6 separate regions of the Homo sapiens genome follow, and regions 1, 2, 3, 4 and 5 are each linked to region 6. The links are contacts of gene promoters, found by promoter capture Hi-C in human tissues and cell types (Jung and others, 2019). All regions are on one chromosome and are shown on one strand. Each heading gives the region's core, a stretch centred on a gene start or on the middle of the fragment in contact. The rest is flanking DNA. Distances are from core to core; before and after follow the strand shown. Region 1 overlaps CEP112 (centrosomal protein 112). Region 2 overlaps CEP112 (centrosomal protein 112). Region 3 has its middle 160 kb from the start of LINC02563. Region 4 has its middle 110 kb from the start of RGS9. Region 5 overlaps CEP112 (centrosomal protein 112). Region 6 holds the start of AXIN2 (axin 2).

Region 1 (3,228 bases), core at 303-2,802, 390 kb before region 6:
GGTTAAATTTTTCTAGTAAAATGGTATTGATTAGAAGACTGAAATCCATAAATATACTATTTATAAAACTAATAACTAAAATAAAGTTAACACAAAAGTTAGAATAAATGGATGATGAAAATATATCACTTATATTCAGAAAAAAAGGAAAGTAGGATTGTAACACTATCATACAAATTAAATCAATACAAGTCAATAAACTGGACAAAGGGATATATTTTTGCATGCTAAAGGCAAGAGTACTCAATCGAAATATGAAAAGATGTTAGGAACACATGGAGAAATGGACATAGATAGTCATGGGATGTTTTCATATATTTTTCTCCATCTCTGACAGGTCAATGGGTAAAATCCAAATGGGGTGTAACTAACAAATTATATGACAGCTATATTTTGACTTTTTCTTTTTTAGCGTTTTATTTTTTTACGTTTACTTTTGTAGATATATGTTTCCATTTTATTCCAATAAGTACAGTAGTCCCACCTTATCCAAAGTTTCACTTTCCATGGTTTCAGTTACCTTCCATCAACCACAGTCCAAAAATATTAAATGGAAAATTCCAGAAATAAAGAATTCATAAGGTTTACATTGTGCACTGTTCTTAGTAACATGATGAAATCTCATGCCGTCCTGCTCTGTCCTACCCAAGGCATGACTCATCCTTTTATCCAGCATATCCATGCTGTATACCCTACCTGCCCTATACAATGCAGCTATATAGCAAAAACCATAGTGCATATAGGGTTTGTTACTATCCAAAGTTCAGACATCCACTGAGGGTCTTAGAACATATAAGGAGGGACTACTGTACCTAGGAGTGGAATAGCTGATCAAGTTTAACATTTTTATTTTTATGTATATATTTTTAAATTTTTTATTTTTTTATTTCAATAGGTTTTTGGGGCACAGGTGGTGCTTGGTTACATGAATAATTTCTTTAGTGGTGATTACTGAGATTTTGGTGCACCCATCACCCTAGCGGTGTATACTGTATTCAATGTATAGTCTTTTAACCCTCACCTCCCCCACCCAAAGTCTTCCCCCTGAGTCCCCAGAGTTTATTGTATCATTCTTATGTGTTTGTGTCTTCATACCTTAGCTCCCACTTATGAGTAAGAACATACGATGTTTGGTTTTCCATTGATTTAGAATAATGGTCTCCAGTAACATCCAGGTTGATGTGAATGCCATTATTTTGTTCCTTCTTATGACCAAGTAGTATTCCATGGTGTGTGTGTGTGTGTGTGTGTGTGTATGTATGTATGTATATATATCATAATTTCTTTATCCACTCGTTGACTTACGGGCATTTGGGCTGGTTCCATATTTTTGCAATTACAAATTGTGCTGCTATAAACATGCATGTGCAAGTATCTTTTTCATATAATGACTTCTTTTCCTCTGGGTAGACACCTAGAAGTGGGATTGCTGAATCAAATGGTAGATCTACTTTTAGTTCTTTAAGGAATCTCTACAGTGTTTTCCATAGTGGTTGTACTACTTTACATTCCCACCAGTATTTGATATAATTTCGATTTTCTTAAATTTACTGAGACTCGTTTTGTGGCCTGTTATGGTCTATCTTGGGGAATGTTCCATGTCCTTCTGAATAGAATGTATATTCTGCAGTTGTTGGGTAGAATGTTCTGTAAATATCTGTTAAGTCCATTTGTTGTAGGGTATAGTTTAAGTTCATTGTTCTTGTTGACTTTCTGTCTTGATGACCTGTGTAGTGCTGTCAGTGGAGTATTAAACTCCCCCACTATTATTGCATTGCCACCTGTCTCATTTCTTAGGTCTAGTAGTAATTGTTTTATACATTTGGGAGCTCCAGTGTTAGGTGCATTCATATTTAGAATTGTGATATTTTCCTGTTGGACTAGTCCTTTTACCATTATATAATGTCCCTGTTTGTCTTCTTTAACTGCAGTTGCTTTAAAGTTTGTTTTGTCTGATATAAGAATAGCTACTCCTGCTCGCTTTTGGTGTTTATTTACATGGAATATCTTTTTCTACCCCTTTACTGTAAGTTTATGTGAGTCCTTATGTGTTAGGTGAGTCTACTGATGACAGCAGAAATTTGGTTGGTGAATTCTTATCGATTCTGCCATTCTGTATCTTTTAGGTGGTGCATTTAGGCCATTTACATTCAATGTTAGTATTGAGATGTGAGGTATTATTCTATTCATCGTGCCATTTGTTGCCTGAATACCTACTGTTTTTTAATTATGTTATTGTTATATAGGTCCTGTGAGATTTATGCTTTGGTGTATTTAGAGGATTTGTTTGAAGATTTAGAACACCTTTTAGCAGTTCATTTAGTGGTGGCTTTGTATTGGCGAATTCTCTCCGCATTTGTTTTCTGGAAAAGACTATGTCTTTTCTTCATTTATAAAGCTTACTTTCGCTGGATACAAAATTCTTGGCTAATAATTGTTTTGTTTAAGGAAACTAAAAATAAGACCCCACTCCTTGCCAGCTTTTAGGGTTTCTGCCAAGAAGTCTGCTGTTAATTTGATAGGTTTACCTTTCTAGGCTACCTGATACTTTTGGCTCACAGCCCTTAAGATTCTTTCCTTTGTCTTGACTTTAGATAACGTGATGACTATGTGCCTAGGCGATGATCTTTTTGTGATGAATTTCCCATGTGTTCTTTGTGCTTCTTGTATTTGCATGTCTAGGCCTTTAGCAAGGCTGGGGAAGTTTTCCTAAATTATTCCCTCAAATATGTTTTCCAAACTTTTAGCTTTCTCATCTTCCTCAGGAACACCAATTATTCTTAGGTTTGGATGTTTAACTTAGTCCCAAACTTCTAGGAGGCTTTGTTCATTTCTTAAAAATCTTTTTTCTTCATCTTTGATGGATTGGGTTAATTTGAAAGCCTTGTCTTTGAGCTCTGAGGTTCTTTCTTCTGCTTGTTCAATTCTATTACTGAGATTTTCCAGTGCATTTTGCATTTCTCTGAGTGTGTCCTTGATTTCCAGACATTATGATTGTTTTTTATATATGCTGTCTATTTCACTGAAGAACTCTTCTTTTGTATTCTGTATCATGTTTTTGATTTCTTTATGTTGAACCTCACCTTTCTCTGATGCCTCCTTGATTCGCTTAATAATTGACCTTCTGAATTCTTTTTCTGGCAATTCAGAGATTTCATCTTGGCTTGGATCCATTGCTGGTGAGGTGGTATGATCTCTTGGAGGAGTTAAAGAATCTTGTTTTGTCAT
Region 2 (3,751 bases), core at 197-2,696, 290 kb before region 6:
GTATGTAATCACCAAGTTGTAGAGAATGCAAGGACATAGAAATTTATAAATGCCAACAAATGTCAAATTTAGGGGAAGAGGAAAAATTCCTAAACTATAAAAATTTACCAAAACTGACTCTGTAAAAGACCGGAAAATGTGAATCATCCTATAACCATCAGAAAAATTGAAATAGTAGTCAAAATGTTTTCCAGATATACAATATCAAGCCCAGATGGCCCTACTGGCCAGTTCCACTAAATATTTAAGAAACAAATAACTCATCTTATACTGATTCTTTCAGAGGATGAAAAAGGTAGCATCATTCAGCAACTGAATTTATGAGACTAGCATAACATCAATTTAAAAATATGCCAAGGAGAGTCCAAAAAAAAAAATCCCTCAGGTCAGTCTCTCAAAAATCATTAGCAAATTATTAGCAAACTGAATCCAGTAATATTATCTTATGGAAAAAATTGAATGTAACCTAAGGTTGATGTAACGTTTGAAAATAACCTATAATATAATTTACTCCATTAATGCATTGAAATAATAAACATTGACCAGGTGTGGTGGCTTACACCTGTAGTCCTAGCACTTTGGGAGGCTGAGGTGGGCGGATCACGAGGTCAGGAGTTCGGTTAGCAAGCCATCAGTATCAAGACAAGACTCTCCACCAGCAAAAAGATTAGGACTTAAGAATGGCTTAGATGATCATTAACCCTTCTTAGCAATAATGTATTTTAAATGAAGGAATGCACATTGTTTTTTAGACATAATGCTCACTGAATAAACTGCAAGCTTGTCCAACCCACCTTATTTTGTTGTTGTTGTTCTGTTTTGTTTTGCTTTAGGCTTTTAGCAGCCAGAAGCCATGGTTTTAAAGTTTCTGTCTTTAGTGATAAGCAGAAAAGAGGGATGAGGAAGGGGCTTTACTGGCCCAACCAGAAACAGAAACCAAGAACCCATGACTGTATTCTCTCCCTCAGACACTCCTGAATAGTCTATAACTTTTATATGCACTGGGAAACCAACCAATTTATGTGACTCACTTTATGGAGATATTTGCTTCATCGCAGTATTCACTTCATTGCAATATTTGCTTTATTGAGGTGGTCGGGAACCAAACACACAATATCTCTGTGATATGCCTGTACTGGAAGGGTGAAATACTAGGGAGCCACTAAATATGACAAATATGCTAATAAATGGGAATTAAATTAAAATTGGGTGTGTGAAAATATAGAACAGTATCTACACAGTGATGACAATGTGCATAACAATACTTTGATTTACATTGACAGAGATTGAAACTCGATTTGGGATGGTCTCACTGCTTTTGGAAAACTAACATTTTTGCTCATTTTTTAAAGATTTTCCTAGTGGGCACAATGTATAATATTTGGTTGGTAGTTACACTAAAAGCCCAGATTTTACCACTATGCAATATATCCAAGTAACAAAACTGTACTTATGCTCCCAAATCTATAAAAATGTATGTATTTTTTAATTTTCAAAAAAAGACATTATGGACTTATGGCTTTTGGATGTTAACTTTGTACTAACCATAGTGAAAATTAGGGGATAGAAACGCACAATAACAAATTAATAAAGTACAATAAATATGTACTCTTCCTTAAGAGAAATTCTTAATACTTTGAGATGATACAGTATGTGATAAAAAGCAGACTTTCAAATCAGCTTGAGCTTGGATAAAATCTTTCCAATTCTATTTTTCTCAGACTCTATTATTTAGATGTTGTCACTTCCTCTGTCCTCCACAAATATTAGCTTTTCTTTTACATTTTCTGTATTATTATCTTTCTCTGCTGCCTCCCAGGGAGTTCTTCAATCTTACCATCCTTCCAATGCGCAATTCTATTCTTTGGCTTTAGCTAACTTGCTCTTTTTCCTATCATTTTCACTTTTTCCTTCTTCTATGACATTAATTGCAGCTTCATGTCTGTAACTTCTTCCATTACACTTTTCAGTATATTAAGTATATATATATTACTATTTGTATGTTTATTATGGACTTTTTTTGGAGATAAGATCTCCTTCTGTCACACAGGCCGGAGTACAGGGTATGACCACGGTTCACTGCAGCCTCCTGGGCTCAATTGATCTTCTTTCCTCAGCCTCCTGAGTAGCTGGGACTACAGGCACACCCCACCACACCTGACTCATTTCTGTATTATCTGTAGAGAAGGAGCCTCACTATATTGCCAAGGCTGGTCTTGAACTCCTAGGCTCAAGTGATCCACCTGCCTTGGCCTCTCAAAGTGCTGTGATTACAGGCATAAGCCAACACACCCGGCCTATTACGCACTTAAAAAATTCTTGTTTCATCTGTTCCAATTATACTGCTTCAGATAATATATGTTATTTAGGTGTCTCTTTTTGGTAGTAGTTTTGCTCCTCAGGTTTATTTACTTTGGCCAGGGAGCCCATTTTCCCCTGGGACTATCAGATATCCTGACTGGGGAAGAGCAGAAGCCCACCTTTAGTCCCTGACCTGTTGGATGAGCTTATAGAAGGACAAGATTATGAACCCCAAGACAGAGCCCTTCATTGCCGTACCACTCCCTTTCACAGTTACTTCATCAGGAAAACCTGCTGGTCGGGAATTTACCTAAGCTCCTGGAAGTGAGTGTCTAATGACTGAGTCACTAGTCCTGGGAGTTTGGAGGGAAGCCTTTGGAAGGGGGAATACCCAGGAAGTTCAGAGAAGTCTGTGCCTGTTTTCTTCAACTCCTCACCCAAGGAGGGCTTTGCTTTCCTTGGTATTGACTGACTGATGTCAACACTATGTTGAGTTCTTGCTCCCAACATGGTAATGGAACAGATATGATTTTACCTGGCTACAAAAGAGAGAGACAAGAGCAGAAGGTAAAGCATTCCTGCAACCCACCTTCTTACAGCGGTTTTCTATTATTTTCTTCCCCAGGCTGTACCCCCTTAGGACTGTCTTTATTCCACCCAGGAGCTTCTCAAAATTTGCTTTTGTTATGTTTATTATTGTTATAGTTATTAGTATCTCAGATTCATGCTTCCTGTGCTTTCTCCAGGATTGATTTTGGGGAAGGGAGCCAGCAACCCATCCTTGTCTGCCATGTTGATATCCCTGAGCTTTTTTTTAAAAAAAGAATGTTCTGCCTCCCAAACACATAACTGTTGTCACTGCTAAAGTCTATCTGTTTTTAGAAGATGTATCCTCTATTTCAGAATCTGATTGCATTGACTATCTCTTCTCTTGGGTTCAAAAGAATCATTATAAAACAAAGAACAAAAGGTAAAAGACTGTTTTCACGGACAATTGATCCACAGCTGATTATTGATACACAGATATCAATCTATGAAATAGAGAAACAAATAGATGTTAAAACAGTGCATAGATTTCCTGAAGAAAAAATAACTAATTTTTCCACTACAGGTTTACAAGGATCAGCCTTTTATATAAAGTCCTCTCACATATTCCTTTGGGACTAGTTCAAGTAAGCTTTTCTTAGAAAGGCAGGATAAAAATGGGACATCCTATCACCTCCAGCCTCGAAGGCTCAGATTTATTACTATAAAGCATTTTCTTTCCTCTAACACAAATGTTACTGTTCTAGATGTCTTTTCCAGTCTAGTGTAGAGAGGCCACAGGGTTAATAGTTGAGCTAATGTATACTGAACACAATCCAAAATAAGATGCCTGGTGCAAAGTAAACACTCAAAATTATAGCAATTATTATTTATCATGTAGAAATCACAAAATTGTTAAAATTAA
Region 3 (3,367 bases), core at 412-2,911, 260 kb after region 6:
AAAAATACAAAAAAAAAAAAAAATTGCCAGGCGTGATGGCACATGCCTATATTCCCAGCTACTCAGGAGGCTGAGGCAGGAGAATCACTTGAAACTGGGAGGTGGAGGTTGCAGTGAGCCAAGATTGCACCACTGCACGCCAGCCTGGGCAGCAAAGCAAGACTCTGTCTCAAAAAAAAAAAAAAAAAAGAAAAGAAAAGAAAAAGAAATTTCTGTTGTTGAGGCCACCAGGTCTAACGTATTTTGTTATGGCAGCCTGAGCAGGCTAATACACTCAGGTAAGCCAAATGAACATGTTTCAACACGGTCATTCATTCATTCACTTGTTTGGTCAATAAATATTTGCTGAGCTCCTCCTGAAGTCAAAGGCTGGGCTGGGCTGGGCTGAGTTCATCCGGCATCCTCTGCTCCTTCCACACTCTGTTGTGCTTTCTGGTTCTCAGAGAAGGGGCTGTAATATGCATGGCTCCCACTTTTATCTGACCATAGAACACTTTTGGTGAGGAACAATGCATCCCAAGGGGCACTTTGAGAAACACTCAAATAATGCTTTGGTCCAATGGAGAGATGGATTCTTTGGGTTGTGTTTTACCATAGCTGTTATTTGATTCAGCAGAACTGGGCACCCATACTGGGTATAGCGTCAGGCTGAACACTGGGAAGGTTGAAAAGCAAAGAAAAGATAGGGAGTCAGGAGAAAACACGGCATATTTTAGAGGGCAGGAAGCTTAGAATAAAGCGGACTTGGTTTCAAGGCTTGGGTCTGCCCTTTTTTATGATTGCTGTGGCTTCTGTTCAGTTACCTCTCTGTGCTTCTGTTTCTTCCCATGTAAAATAAGAATATCTTGAAATGTTACCAAGCCTTGAAATAAAATAGATATAAAGGACTTGGTACTCACAGCACCTGACATAAGTGGTAGTCATCACTGTGGTATGCAAAGACTGTTCCCTTCATGGGCAGAAATCAGAGGACATTGGATCTCCTGCGATCCAAGATCTATGAGCAAATCCCACAACCCCCTCCCGATGCCACTTCCCCATCCAGAAACCTGCTTCCTCCAGGGAAGCCAGATCCTGATGATCTCTGGGGGCCCCTTAGAGCCCTTAGCACCTAGGACTGCCTTCTTCTGTAGACTCCATCTCCTACCTTGACCTGTAGAGCTGCAGCTGGGCTGTGGAACTTCATCATCTTTTACTATTAATTCAGTGGTGATCATGCCCCTGTACTGAAGTGGAGGTCTGATTATGAAGGCCTAAATCCACATTTTTCCTAGCATGGTGATGGCCAGCATGTTCTTCTTTCATCTGAAGGAATTTTCTTATAGTTCAAGATGCACTGACGCATTGCATTATCCCCCTGAGGAACCAGTAAGGCTTTTTCAGACTTGCATTTATTTTATTTTTAAATTTTTATTTCTTTTTGAGGCAGGGTCTCTCTCGGTCATCCAGGCTGGAGTGCCATGGTGTGATTTCAGCTCACTGCAACCTCCACCTCCTGGGTTTAAGCAATTCTCGTGCCTCAGCCTCCCAAGTAGCTGGGATTACAGTCATGCACCACCATGCCCAGCTAATTTTTGTATTTTTAGTAGAGACGGGGTTTTGCCATGTTGGCCAGGCTGGTCTTGAACTCCTGACCTCAAGTGATCCACCCTACTCAGCCTCCCAAAGTGCTGGGATTACAGGCATGAGCCACTTCACCTGGCCCCAGACTTGCATTTTAAGAGCACCTTGCCAAGCCTTTCTGCCCCTGTTTGCTTTGCAATTGACAGGGTCTTCCTGCCCATGTTTGGGTTCCCTATTAAATAAAACTCTGTGTCTCCACATTAGGGGATGGGAAGGTCTGCTGAGCTGCAGGATGGAAACACAGCCTATGTCAGCAAGGGTTTGACCTTCCAGGCAAATGTTGCCCACTGTTTGTGTTTCTTTGTCTCCACTATGTTCTGGAGGGACGTTAAAGGAGCACGGGACTCTGAATGACAAGAAAGGGATGTGAATCTATTTCTGCCACCAGCTCTCTGTGTGACAGTGGGCAAGTGACTAAGACCCTCCAAGTCTCTGTTTCTTCTTTTTTAAAAGGGGGTTAATAAGAGGTTATTTTGAGGATTGCCCAGTGTATTGTTTGTAAGGGACTGCCATAATAAAGTACCACAGTCTGGGTGGCTTCAACAACAGAAATTTATTATCTTGCAGTTCTGGAAGCTGGAAGTCCAAGATCAAGGTGTCAGCAGGGTTGGTTTCTTCTGAGGTCTCTCTCCGTGGCTCAGCCAGCTGTCTTCTCCCTGTCTTTTCTTTTTTTTTTTTTTTTTTTGAGACAGGGTCTTGCTCTGTCACCCAGGCTGGAGTGCAGTGGCATGATCTTGGCTTACTGCAACCTCCACTTCCCAGGCTCAAGCAATTCTCCAGCCTCAGCCTCTCGAGTAGCTGGGACTACAGGCATGAGCCACCAATGCCTGGCTAATTTTTGTATTTTTAGTAGAGATGGGGTTTCGCCATGTTGGCCAGGCTGATCTCAAACTCCTGACCTCAAGTGATCTACCCGCCAAGGCCTCCCAAAGTGCTGGGATTACAGGCGTGAGCCACTGCGCCTGGCTGCCTCCCTCTGCTTTCATATGATCTTTACTCTGAGGGTATCTGTGTCCCAACCTCCTTTTCTTATAAAGACATCAGTCATAGTAAATTAGGACCTGCTCTAATGACCTCATTTTAACTTAATTACCTCTTCAGTGACTGTATCTCCAAATGCAGTCACAACTTGAAGTACTGGAGGTTAGGACTTCAACACAAAAATTTGGGGGTGGGGGGAGGAGACACACAATTGAGCCCACAACACCTGAGGTAACAGGGGGAGTGATGATATTACATTGTATAGGGCACATTGCTGAACCCAAACCTGGTGACAGCTCAATGCCTTCAGTCATTTAAGGAGTTTTTGTTGTTAACAATCACCTGCAAATTTCATGCTGTACTGTATGACATGAGGCTACATTTTTAAAGGGTACTTGTAGGCTGGGCATGGCAGCTCATGCCTGTAATCCCAGCACTTTGGGAGGCTGAAGTAGGAGGATGGCTTGAAGTCAGAAGTTCGAGATTAGCCTGGCCAACATAGCAAGACTCCAACTCTACAAAAAATAAATTTTAAAAAATTAGCCAAGTGTGGTGGCAAGCACCTGTGTTCTCAGCTGCTTGGGAGGCCTAGGTGGGAGGATTGCTTGAGCCCAGGAGTTCAAGACTGCAGTGAGCCATGATCGTCACTACACTCCAGCTTTGGTGACAGAATGAAACTCTAAGATCCTGTCTAAAAAAAAAAAAAAAAAAGGACACCCATAAAAACACTTGCTGTTGGAGATGTAGTCTGAAGCATCTTCTG
Region 4 (3,361 bases), core at 239-2,738, 320 kb after region 6:
CTCCTTGTGGTTCTCACATTTGCCCCCATCCCCTCGCCACACTGTTGTTCTTGCCCTACCCTCCAACTAGATGCTTCCTGTTTCTCTCTCTGTCATTTGAGGTCCAACCCAAATTCATCTAGGGATACCCTGATTGCACCGGTGGGGTGATTCTTTCCCTCTGAAATGTCATCATCTCCAGACAATTGAACACATTCTGCTTTGCATTATTTTATTTTTTATTTTTATCATTTTTTTACTTTTTTGAGACAGAGTCTCGCTCTGTCACCCAGGCTGGAGTGCAGTGGTACGATCTCGGCTCACTGCAACCTCCGCCTCTCAGGTTCGAGTGATTCTCCTGCCTCAGCCTCCCGAGTAGCTGGGACTACAGGCGCGTGCCACCACACCCGGCTAATTTTTGCAGTTTTAGTAGAGACAGGGTTTCACCATGTTGGCCAGGCTGGTCTCAAACCCCTGACCTCAAGTGATCCTCCCACCTTGGCCTCCCAAAGTGCTGGGATTATAGGTGTGAGCCACCACGTCCAGCCTGCTTTGTATTATTTTAGTGCATTTTCATGCCCTGACAGCTGGGAAAGTCCTCAGGGACTGAAGCCATGTGAGCCATTCACATCCTCCGGCACCACCAACATAGTATATCCTCAATCAATGGGTGTTGAATGAATGCGTAAGTTACAAACAATGCTGAGACATGCTGAGCCAGCCCATTTATAAGCCACCCTCTTCTTAGCTCTGCTACTAAAAACACACACAGACCATCTCATTTGCACTTTTCTCTCAAGTCAAGCAGTGCATATACATCCCCTCATTACAGATCTATCTGACTGCACTCTCTTCAGACCCAGATCTCTTGCCCTTAGGGTTTCCAGCCAAGTCCCTCCGACTGGAATCGCAGTCTCGGGGCTTAGTCCACTTCTGAGGGTCTTGTTCTCTGTCTTGCTGTCCCCAGTTCTCTGCTTCTAGGACAATCCCCAGGCCCAGGAGCAAAGCCAAAGCTTGGTCCCAAGGCAGTCCCCTTAGAACCAGCTAGAGAGCAAAAGAAACTCTGCCTTCTCCGAGATCAAAGCTTTGTGCAGCAGGATCACCGGTGGCCTAATGCCATGCTACCATGGCAACATGAATTTTAAGCAGTCATCGGCAGAACCTGGCTGCTCTATTTCAACAACCCTGGAGTCAGCCTCTCCGGGGTGAGACTTCCCACAACAAGGGACAAGGGTGTGCCTGGGGAATCTGAGTCACTTTCTGGGGTCAGGCCAACCTGCCCTGGTAACTGACATCCTGAAGCCTGACTCCATAGGGGAGTGGGATGTCACACTTATGTTTCCAGGACAGAATGTGTTACTGGGGAAGACATGAGGGCACCAGCAGCCTCAAGGGCGGAACCCCAACAAGGAGGCTAAAACAGTTTCCCACTTCCGTCCCTTCCAGGAACAGGCTCTTCTATGTCTAGGGATGCAAAGAGGACTGCATAGTCCCCAATCCCAACGACTTCACAAACTTTCAGAAAGATAAATCACATATTAAAATAATACAGGGTGGGTGTGGTGGCTCATGCCTGTAATCCCAGCAATTTGAGAGGCCGAGACAGGTGGATCACTGAGGTCAGGAGTTCGAGACCAGCCTGGCCAACATGGTGAAACCCTGTCTCTACTAAAAATATAAAAATTAGCCAGGTGTGGTGGCATGCACCTGTAATCCTAGGTACTCAGGAGGCTGAGGCAGGAGAATCACTTGAACCTGGGAGGTGGAGGTTGCAGTGAGCCAAGATCAGGCCACTGCACTCCAGCCTGGGCGACAGAGTAAGACTTCATCTCAAAAAACAAACAAACAAATAAATAAATAAATAAAATAATACAGGCTTGGTGCAGTGGCTCACACCTGTAATCCTAGTACTTTTGGGAGGCCAAGGCAGTCAGATCGCTTGAGCCTAGGAGTTTGAGACCAGCCTGAGCAACATGGAAAAATCCTGTCTCTACCAAAAAAAAAAAAAAAAATTAGCCTGGCATAGTGGTGCATGCCTATATTCTCAGCTACACTGGAGACCGAGGTGGAAGGATCACCTGAGCCCAGGAGTTTAAGTGCAGTGAACCCTGATCACACCGCTGCACTCCAGCCTGGGCAACCAATGAGATCCGGTTTCAAAAAAAAAAAAAGATACAGAGTGAAATGTAACAGATTCTCTGATTTCCTGTTAAGCTTTACACTGGGACCACTGATGCTGGTGGCACAAGACAAGCACCAAAAGCCCCACTGAGGCTGAATCACCTGGCACAGGCTAGGATACACCAGAGGACAGGCAGGGAGGCTCATGCCCTGCAGTCTCTCTGGTCATCCTTATCATCTCTGTCCTCCCAGGGTTAGGAGTTTGCAGGAGGACCAGAGCCCCTAACATTCTTGGCCTCCAGAAGAATGTGGTGCTCAGCCCCACGTGGTCTCACTGCTGCAGTAAATGCTAGCACCAACAATGTGAAAGTGTTCCTAACAGTTCCAGCTAGGATGTAAGGGCATGATTATCCTCATACATGCATTATTGGTAGCAATCTAAATTAGTACAGACTTTAAAAAGGTGATTTGGTGGCCAGGCATGGTGGCTCATGCCTGTAATCCCAGCACTTTGAGAGGCCAAGGTGGGAGGATTGCTTGAGCCCAGGAGTTTGAGACCATCCTGGCCAACATAGGGAGACCCCTGTCTCTACAAACAAATATAATAAAATAAATTTTTTAAAAAGACTATTTGGCATGGAAGATTGGTCTTAAAATATGCATACTCTAACCCAGCGATTCCTCTTTTTAGTTTCTTTTCTTTTCCTTTTTTTTTTTTTTTTTTTTTGAGACAAGCTCTCACTCTGTCATTCAGGCTGGAACTGGAGCACAATGGTGCAATCAAAGCTTACTGCAGCCTCGACCTCCCAGGCTCAAGCAATCCTCCCACCTCAGCCTGCCAAGTAGCTGGGGCTATAGGCATGCACCACCACACAGCTAATTTTTGAAAAATTTTGTGTAGAGACAGGGTCCCCTATGTTGCCCAAGCTTATCTTCAACTCCTGGGCTCAAGCAATCCTCCCACTTTGGCCTCCCAAAGTGCTGGGATTACAGGCATAAGCCACCATACCTGGCCTTTGGTTTCCATCCCAGGGAGATACTTATAGATGCGCACAGAGGAATGTACAAGGATGTTCATTACAACAGCATTTGTTTTGATGAAAAGTTGGAAACAATGTTCATCTGTAGGAGAATAATCGAACTATGATACAAGCCTACCTTATGAATTCCCCAGAGCTGCTGTAACAAAGGACCGCAAACAAGGTGGCTTAAAACAACGGAAATTAATTCTCTATTAGTTCTGGAGGCTACAAGTCCAAAG
Region 5 (3,259 bases), core at 193-2,692, 320 kb before region 6:
TAGCTGCATTTTTTTCCCCTAAGCAACCCTTTCTCTTCTGAACCCTATGGCAGCCCGCGGTTGTGTAGATTGAGCTCAGGAATGTCTTAAAACATTAATTTGGTTTGACATGACTTGGTGCACAAATTAATTATTCAGGCACATATTGTTCCATGTACATGAAAAGAATGAAACTGTAGTGAATTGCATTTTAACTACCACATGTGAATTGTAATGTTATTAGCAAACAGACTATTAAAGAACAAAAGCTGGCAACATATAGTAATTCCGAATTGGGCCAGTCCCACAAAATTAGCATAAATATGTCAATCAATCAGAATAGTTTTGGACTTCCTAGGAAAGTGTCCCTATTCTTATCTAGCTCTAAAAGAATGTGAAATAAACTATTCATTTAACCAAGTATAAAAATATGCCTGCTATGCCGTTATAATCATGTGTCATTAATCAGAAAATACTGCAGAAACTCTGACAAATTAAAAACACAAGGATGTGTCTGCAAGGGTTTTTTTAGCCATTAAAAAGCTGCTTCACCTCTCTGGCAAGCTCTTTTATGGCAACTTCTTACTCAGTGTACTGACATCTTCAAAGGCTCTGACATCTGTCAGCCTTTGAACTACCATTAAAAAATATTATCCCATTTCCATTCTTTTATGCCCATTTTTTTAATTATAGCCCCTCTTTCAAGTTAGGAACATGGTTGGTTTAAATGATGCTGTCCTTTCGTTTTCAGCCACCCAGCTGCGGTTTGAATAAATTGATGTGGAACCAAAGGCGGGACTTTAAAGGGAAAAGGTTTGATGGACTTGGACTCCGAACCAGATGAGGTTTTATGATGAAAAGGGTTTAATCCCAGCACAGGCATTGCTTCTATCAGTTGAGCAGTACAAAGCAATTCATATATATAGGTTCACGTGAAATGATCTATTTTTTTTAACAGCACAGATCTCTTCAGGACTTGCAAATGTGGCATTAGCTAATATTCAGAGAGCTGATTTCCTTTCATCCACCAGAAGCTTATGATTATAGTACAGTTCTCGAATTGGAAATGAGAGCTGCAACACAGATTTAAAGCTGTGCTGTCTGATTTGTATTCAATATACCTGTCACTGCAGGACAGGCTAGTCTGGGCCAAGCTGGTTCAATACAAGGAAAAACAGTTTCATCATCTGAGAGTCTTAGTCAGAAATATCACCAGCTAATTAAAACAGCAGTCTCATGACTATTAGTGAGGTGTTTGGTTGATTGGTGTCTCTTCAAATTTGACAAGAAAGATTTGAAGATGCAGCTTCTCTTTTATTACATATTCTTCTTGCAGTGTAAATGTGTTGAAGTACATTGCAGGGTAATGAAGCATAGGCAGTTAATTCAAACCGTTTTTTTTTTAAAAAGGAAAACAACATAACTTTAAAACAATGACTTGTTTTGCATTAAAATAGTTCCCCTTACTCTGCTATTGATCTGGAAAAAAGTCATTTATGAAAGCAGATTTCAACATCGTCTTTGCCCTGTTGCTGTTGAATGATAAATATTATCTTCAGCCAAATAGTTAAGTAACTGAATGAGTAGTTTAGGGACATTACAAACCTAGAAGATAAACCCAAGTTCACTTTAAAGTAAAAAGTGATAATTTTTAATGTTCTAAATATAAATCAGTATAAATAATCTCAATCCATTAGAAAATTTTCTCAAGATAATCTGCACCTGCTTTTATATTAGAAATCTGCTATTTCTCAGAATATAAAAATCGTTCTTCCATTTACTTGGGAGGTTAGGTACCATTTAATTGTGCAGACTTAATAATTATACAACATTCTTTTCAAGCTCTTCAAATAGGATTTTTATTTGAAACTACAAACTAGGCCGGGCGCGATGGCTCACACCTGTAATCCCAGCACTTTGGGAGGCCGAGGAGGGTGGATCACCTGAGGTCAGGAGTTCAAGACCAGCCTGACCAACATGGAGAAACCCTGTCTCTACTAAAAATACAAAATTAGCCAGGGTGGTGGCACATGCCTGTAATCCCAGCTACTCAGGAGGCTGAGGCAGGAGAATTGCTTGAACCCAGGAGGCGGAGGTTGTGGTGAGCTGAGATGGCGCCCTTGCACTCCAGCCTGGACAACAAGAGCAAAACTCCGTCTCAAAAAAAAAAAAAAAGAAAAAAAAAAAAGAAACTACAAACTAATATCCAAACTATAGTTGGAATAAATTCCGAATATGTATAGTTTTAAATTTGCAAAACATTAACTGTTGGGAAAAGTCCTATAGATGACTGTCTATAGCCTACCTCATATTCTAGAATGTTTCATAGACTTGTCTTTCCCTCTTTAGAAGAAAACCTGAAATAAGACACTTTTGTATAGGATGTATCAGGAAATATATTTTACCTACTCCTTACATATTTTCTGTAGATATGTAAGAGTTTACTGAATTACATGGAAGAAGTTGGATTTCTCACAGTATAATTCTGTTCACTCTGTAATTCTGTTTTAGTTCCCTCTTTTTTATTACCCTGACTAGCTAGTCTTCATTGCTTTTCACCAGGTAGCTAGATATTCATCACTGCAAATAACGCTTTCATGCTGTCTTACCAAATTATCTGTATCTTCCCAGTTTTCCTCCTGCTTCTTCCACTTCTACTTCTCCACGTTAGTTTCTGTTTTCTCCACTAGCTCCTCTGTTTCACGTTGAACACTGGAGTCTACCCCCACTTTTTTTTCTGTATTCATGTTTCTGTTAAGTGATTACCTGCATTTCAGTGGCCTTAACAACTATATGCTAATAACCTTCAAGTTCCCGTCTCTCATCTGTGTTCTGTGCTCTTGACATCTTCTATTAGCTTGTTCACAAACACCTCAAACTTCATAGGTCCAGAACTGAAGCCTCTCCCTCCCAACCTCCCTATGTACCGTACATTCAGTGCTCAAGGCAGAACTTGGAAATAATTCTTGATTTTTTTCCTTTCTCTTAACCTGTCAGTAAATTCTATAGATTCAGTCCCCCAAATTGATCTCCAATCCATTCACTTTATTCACTGCCACCCACTCCTCTAGTCCAGGCCTCTATGTAATCTTATAACTGATAATCTTGCCTTATCTCTTATTTTTCTCAACAGACATGATGATCTTTTTCAAAATGTACATTGGGTTAGAAAACTCCCCTGCTTAAAATCCTTTCATAGCTTGCACTTAGAGTAAAATATAAACTTCTGGCTGGGCACGGTGGCTCACGCCTGTAATCCCAACACTTTGGGAGGCCAAGG
Region 6 (3,619 bases), core at 67-2,566:
TTTTTTTTGAGGGAGTCTCGCTTTGTCACCCAGCCTGGCGTGCAGTGGTGCCATCTTGGCTCACTGCAACCCCCCCACCCCCGTCTCCTAGGTTCAAGCGATTCTCCTGCCTCAGCCTCCCGAGTAGCTGGGACTACAGGCACGTGCCACCACACCCGGCTGATTTTTGTATTTTTAGTAGAGACGGGGTTTCGCCATATTAGGCAGGCTGGTCTCGAACTCCTGACCTCAGATGATCCTCCAGCATGGGCCTCCCAAAATGCTGGGATTACAGGCATGAGCCACCGTCCCCGGCCCTTTGTTTTTTAAAAGGAAGAAAAGTTAATTATTCGCTCATAACATAAGGAATCATTCTATAGCAGCAGCAGAATAAATACACAATGCTCTGGGTTTGTGACATATTTTCTCATTTTAACGGAGAAGAGAAGGTTGTGTGTGCCTTATAAACGTTTTTGGGCAAATGTGGGAGAAATTCAAAGGTGACAATGGGGTGAGGAGTTTTCGATACATTAAAACGGCATGCATGCCTTGTCGTTTGGAGTGGGAAAAAAGATATTCCTATCGGTTTAATATGTAACATATGGCAGAAGAGGGGACTTTGGAAGAGTAACGGGTATGCAGTTGTTTGGGAGAGATGGCCAATGTGTGCCGCTACGAGGGTCTTATGGCCAGCAGGTTAGGAAGCTGGACCTAGGTCTTCAGGGCACTGAGGTATGCCTCCTAACTGGTGTTAGCACTCAGGCCTATACTGGCGGATTCACACCCCACTTTCACACATGCACAAACGCAATTCATCCACCAACTGCAGTCCTATATTTACCCGAACTCAGATGCACGTGCACAAGCGCGCACAGGCATGCACACGCCTCCAGCGGCTGGGCCCGAGTCCGCCCTATGACAGCGGGCCAGCCAACCCCAGGGCCGGAACTCCCTTTATAAAGTCCTCCAAGCCCAAATTCCCAGGGAAACTTGAATAGAGGTAGAAAAGCGTTTGATGATAGAAAAAAAAAAATCTGCTTGCTTGCAGTTCTTGCGATGGCCATAATGCTACCAGAAACTGTTGCATTCCAGAGCCGGGGAGAGCGAGGGCAGGCAGGGGGAGGAGGCGGGAGCAAAGAGGCCGGAGAACTTAAAAGAAGAAATCAGAACTCGGGCTGAGAATGCCCTCGGGGCCGCGGGGGGCTGGCAGGGGGCGGAGGAGAGGCCGGGGAAGGGTTAACGCGGGAGCGGAGCGTGCGGCGGGGGCGGGCCGGGGCGGGGCGGGGCGGGCGCGGGGCGCTGTCCCTTTAAGGCGGGCGGCGCGGGCCGGCCGAGCGCGGCTGTGATTGGCGCGGCGGGATCACTGGCTCCGCGAGCCTGGCCCGGGGGAGTCGGCTGGAGCCGGCTGCGCTTTGATAAGGTCCTGGCAACTCAGTAACAGCCCGAGAGCCGGGAAATAAAAATAACCCCTCAGAGCGATGGATTTCGGGGCCGCCCGGCGGCCGAGGCGCCCGCCGAAGGCCCTGCTGTAAAAGGTGGGGGTGGAAGCTCGGCCCCAGCGGAGCCGCTTCAAAGAAAGCCCCCCTCTTACAGGGGGCGAGGTCGCGCCGAGCCGCGGCGTGGGCGCGGGGGGCGGGAGGGGGCCCGGCCAGGCGGAGGCCGGGCCTGGAGGGGGGCGCGGGCGGGGCGGCCCTGCGGAGCGGTGGCGGGGCTGCGGGGGGCGGCCCGGGGCGCGGCCGGCGCGTACCTCCCTTTCAGGACCGTGCGCTCGGCTCGCGCCTTTGAAGTGCACAGTTAAATCCACAGCGCAGTTTTTGTTGGAAGCGCCCGGAGGACATTTGGTGCGCCGAGTGACTGCTGGAAACAGGACCTGCGTTGAAAGCCGGGCCGGGCGGGGGCGGAGGCCCGCTCGGATCTTTTGCATAAAAGGGGCGGCGGGGCGCGCCGTTCCCCCTCCCCGGCCGGTGGCTTTCGCTCTGAACCCGGGATTGTTGTTTCCCGCACCCCCTCCCCCGCCGCACGACTCCCCATGTTCCCCGACGCCGCGGCCGGCCCGGGGGGGCCCGGGGCTGCCGCCGCGAGCCGAGCCGGGGGCCGGGGCCGGGCCCCTGCCAGGGGCGCCTGCGAGGTCTCGCCGCCGAGCGCGCGCGGGGATCAATGGTGAGTGCCGAGGCCGAGGCGGCCGGGCGGACCGCGCGCTTTGATGTGCGGGGCGGCCCTTTGAAGTTGGCAGGCCGGCTATTTCGGGGCGCGCTAGGGGCCGGCGCGGAGGGGAGCGGCGGACCCGGCGCCCAGCGTTCCGGGGGGCTTGGCCGGGCAGCCTTGCGCGCCCTGCGCCGGAGCCCCCTCCCCAGCGCGGTGACCGGGTTGGCGGGGGGCCCAGAGAGGAGACTTATCCGAGTGGCGGCAGTGGCGGGGGCGGAGAGGGGGCAGATACCCCCCGGGGGTCGCGTCGCTGTCGCGGTTATGGATGTGAGTCGGCGTGTGAGTGCGCGCGGGAGTGCCTTTGGGAGGTGGGATGAAAGGGTAGCGGCGCCCCCCGCTTGCCCTCCCCCGCCCCCCGCCTCTCCTCCGCCCCATCCTCTCCTCCTACTTCTCTTCCCCCTCCCCTTTTCCCCTCCCTGCCGCGGGTCCGCGCTAAGGGGCCCACAGCGCTGGCGGAGGCTCAGTCTGCGCGCAGGACCGGCCCAAGTCCGGGGCGCCCGTGTCCCTCGCGTCCCTCCTCCCGGCCCGGGCCCCTCGCCCGTGGCCGCCCCGGCCCCTTTTGCGGAGAGGCAGAGACTCCGCGCGTCGCCATTTCTGGACTAGGCTGCTGCTTTCTGTGCTTTTTCTGCGGGCGCCTCTGCAAACGGCGGCGCCGGGGACCGACCCCCCGCCCGGGCTCGGGGCGCTGCTGGCGTGTCCCGGGGTTCCGGCCTCGAGGTGTGCCCGCCAGGGCTCTGGAGGCGTTCAGTTGCATTTGGGCCGGGGGACCGGGCCGGAGGGGCTCGGAGGACATGAGAGCCTGGCTTCGGCGGCCTTCGTCTTCCAGGTAACGGGGCCGCTCCACCTCCCACCGCCCGGGTAGCGCGGTGCCAACGGCAGCCCCACTTCTCCGTGGGCCGCGCCGCCCAGCCCCGCGGCTCGAGGCTCTGGTCGGGTTCAGCGTGCACCCATCCCAGATCCGGGGTCCCTGGCTTCTCGCCCGGGGTTGCACCCCGTTCAGCCCCTACCCTTCTTAGTTTGATCTTTTCCGTGCTAGGGAAAGCAGCTTGTTTATTGGTTAGATAAGACTTTTTTCTTTGGAAAAAAGACAGGCTTGAAATCAGTAGAGTTTGGGATTCTTGGCACAGGCAGTAGTGGCGTGAGACGGCTGGTGATCCAGTTTTGTAGGTTTCGCGGATCCGGGAGGTGGGTTGGGGGCACGGGGGCGACGGTTCCGAGGCTTCTCAGCTCTCTCTCAAAGTTTGAAGATGAAAGTCTCCCCTGAGTGAGTTGGTTTCTGGTTTGGGGGGAGGTCAGGGAAGACAGAGGTGTTGACTGAGCTGGATTCTTGGTGGGGGTAGGGGGCGCGTAGCGAACACTCAAATCTGAGTTGGGGAGGGGGTGTTTGCGTGCTGAATCTGGGAGTCCGGGAGCCCAATCCGCCTATGCTGGGCGG

What was found. Contacts are between HindIII fragments. The study calls those that stand out against the background at their distance.
Region 1: a contact is called between a fragment that was not itself captured here and the fragment with the promoter of AXIN2 in region 6, in 2 of the 25 tissues and cell types used here (H1 embryonic stem cells and IMR-90 fibroblasts).
Region 2: a fragment that was not itself captured here is called in contact with the fragment with the promoter of AXIN2 in region 6 in 2 of the 25 tissues and cell types used here (aorta and heart left ventricle).
Region 3: a contact is called between a fragment that was not itself captured here and the fragment with the promoter of AXIN2 in region 6, in 1 of the 25 tissues and cell types used here (spleen).
Region 4: a fragment that was not itself captured here is called in contact with the fragment with the promoter of AXIN2 in region 6 in 1 of the 25 tissues and cell types used here (H1 embryonic stem cells).
Region 5: a contact is called between a fragment that was not itself captured here and the fragment with the promoter of AXIN2 in region 6, in 1 of the 25 tissues and cell types used here (heart left ventricle).

The regions. Positions count from the first base shown.
Region 1 is chr17:65,954,437-65,957,664 of GRCh38, reverse strand. The region is part of intron 18 of CEP112 (centrosomal protein 112); the gene reads left to right. Among named protein-coding and RNA genes, the nearest start is that of CEP112, 240 kb to the left of the region's middle. The HindIII fragment of the contact is 5,186 bases long and covers 1-3,228 here.
Region 2 is chr17:65,854,329-65,858,079 of GRCh38, reverse strand. All of the region lies in intron 20 of CEP112 (centrosomal protein 112), which reads left to right. Among named protein-coding and RNA genes, the nearest start is that of AXIN2, 290 kb to the right of the region's middle. RefSeq lists an enhancer at 2,023-3,222. The HindIII fragment of the contact is 7,184 bases long and covers 1-3,751 here.
Region 3 is chr17:65,298,978-65,302,344 of GRCh38, reverse strand. No RefSeq gene overlaps it. Among named protein-coding and RNA genes, the nearest start is that of LINC02563, 160 kb to the left of the region's middle. The HindIII fragment of the contact is 6,261 bases long and covers 1-3,367 here.
Region 4 is chr17:65,241,785-65,245,145 of GRCh38, reverse strand. No RefSeq gene overlaps it. Among named protein-coding and RNA genes, the nearest start is that of RGS9, 110 kb to the right of the region's middle. The HindIII fragment of the contact is 4,622 bases long and covers 1-3,361 here.
Region 5 is chr17:65,883,615-65,886,873 of GRCh38, reverse strand. All of the region lies in intron 20 of CEP112 (centrosomal protein 112), which reads left to right. All of the region lies in intron 1 of LOC105371867 (a long non-coding RNA gene), which reads right to left. Among named protein-coding and RNA genes, the nearest start is that of CEP112, 310 kb to the left of the region's middle. The HindIII fragment of the contact is 5,519 bases long and covers 1-3,259 here.
Region 6 is chr17:65,559,345-65,562,963 of GRCh38, reverse strand. It overlaps AXIN2 (axin 2), which reads left to right and starts at 1,316. Exons shown (of 11, transcript NM_004655.4): 1 at 1,316-1,514. RefSeq lists a silencer at 1,153-1,302. The HindIII fragment of the contact is 24,248 bases long and covers 1-3,619 here.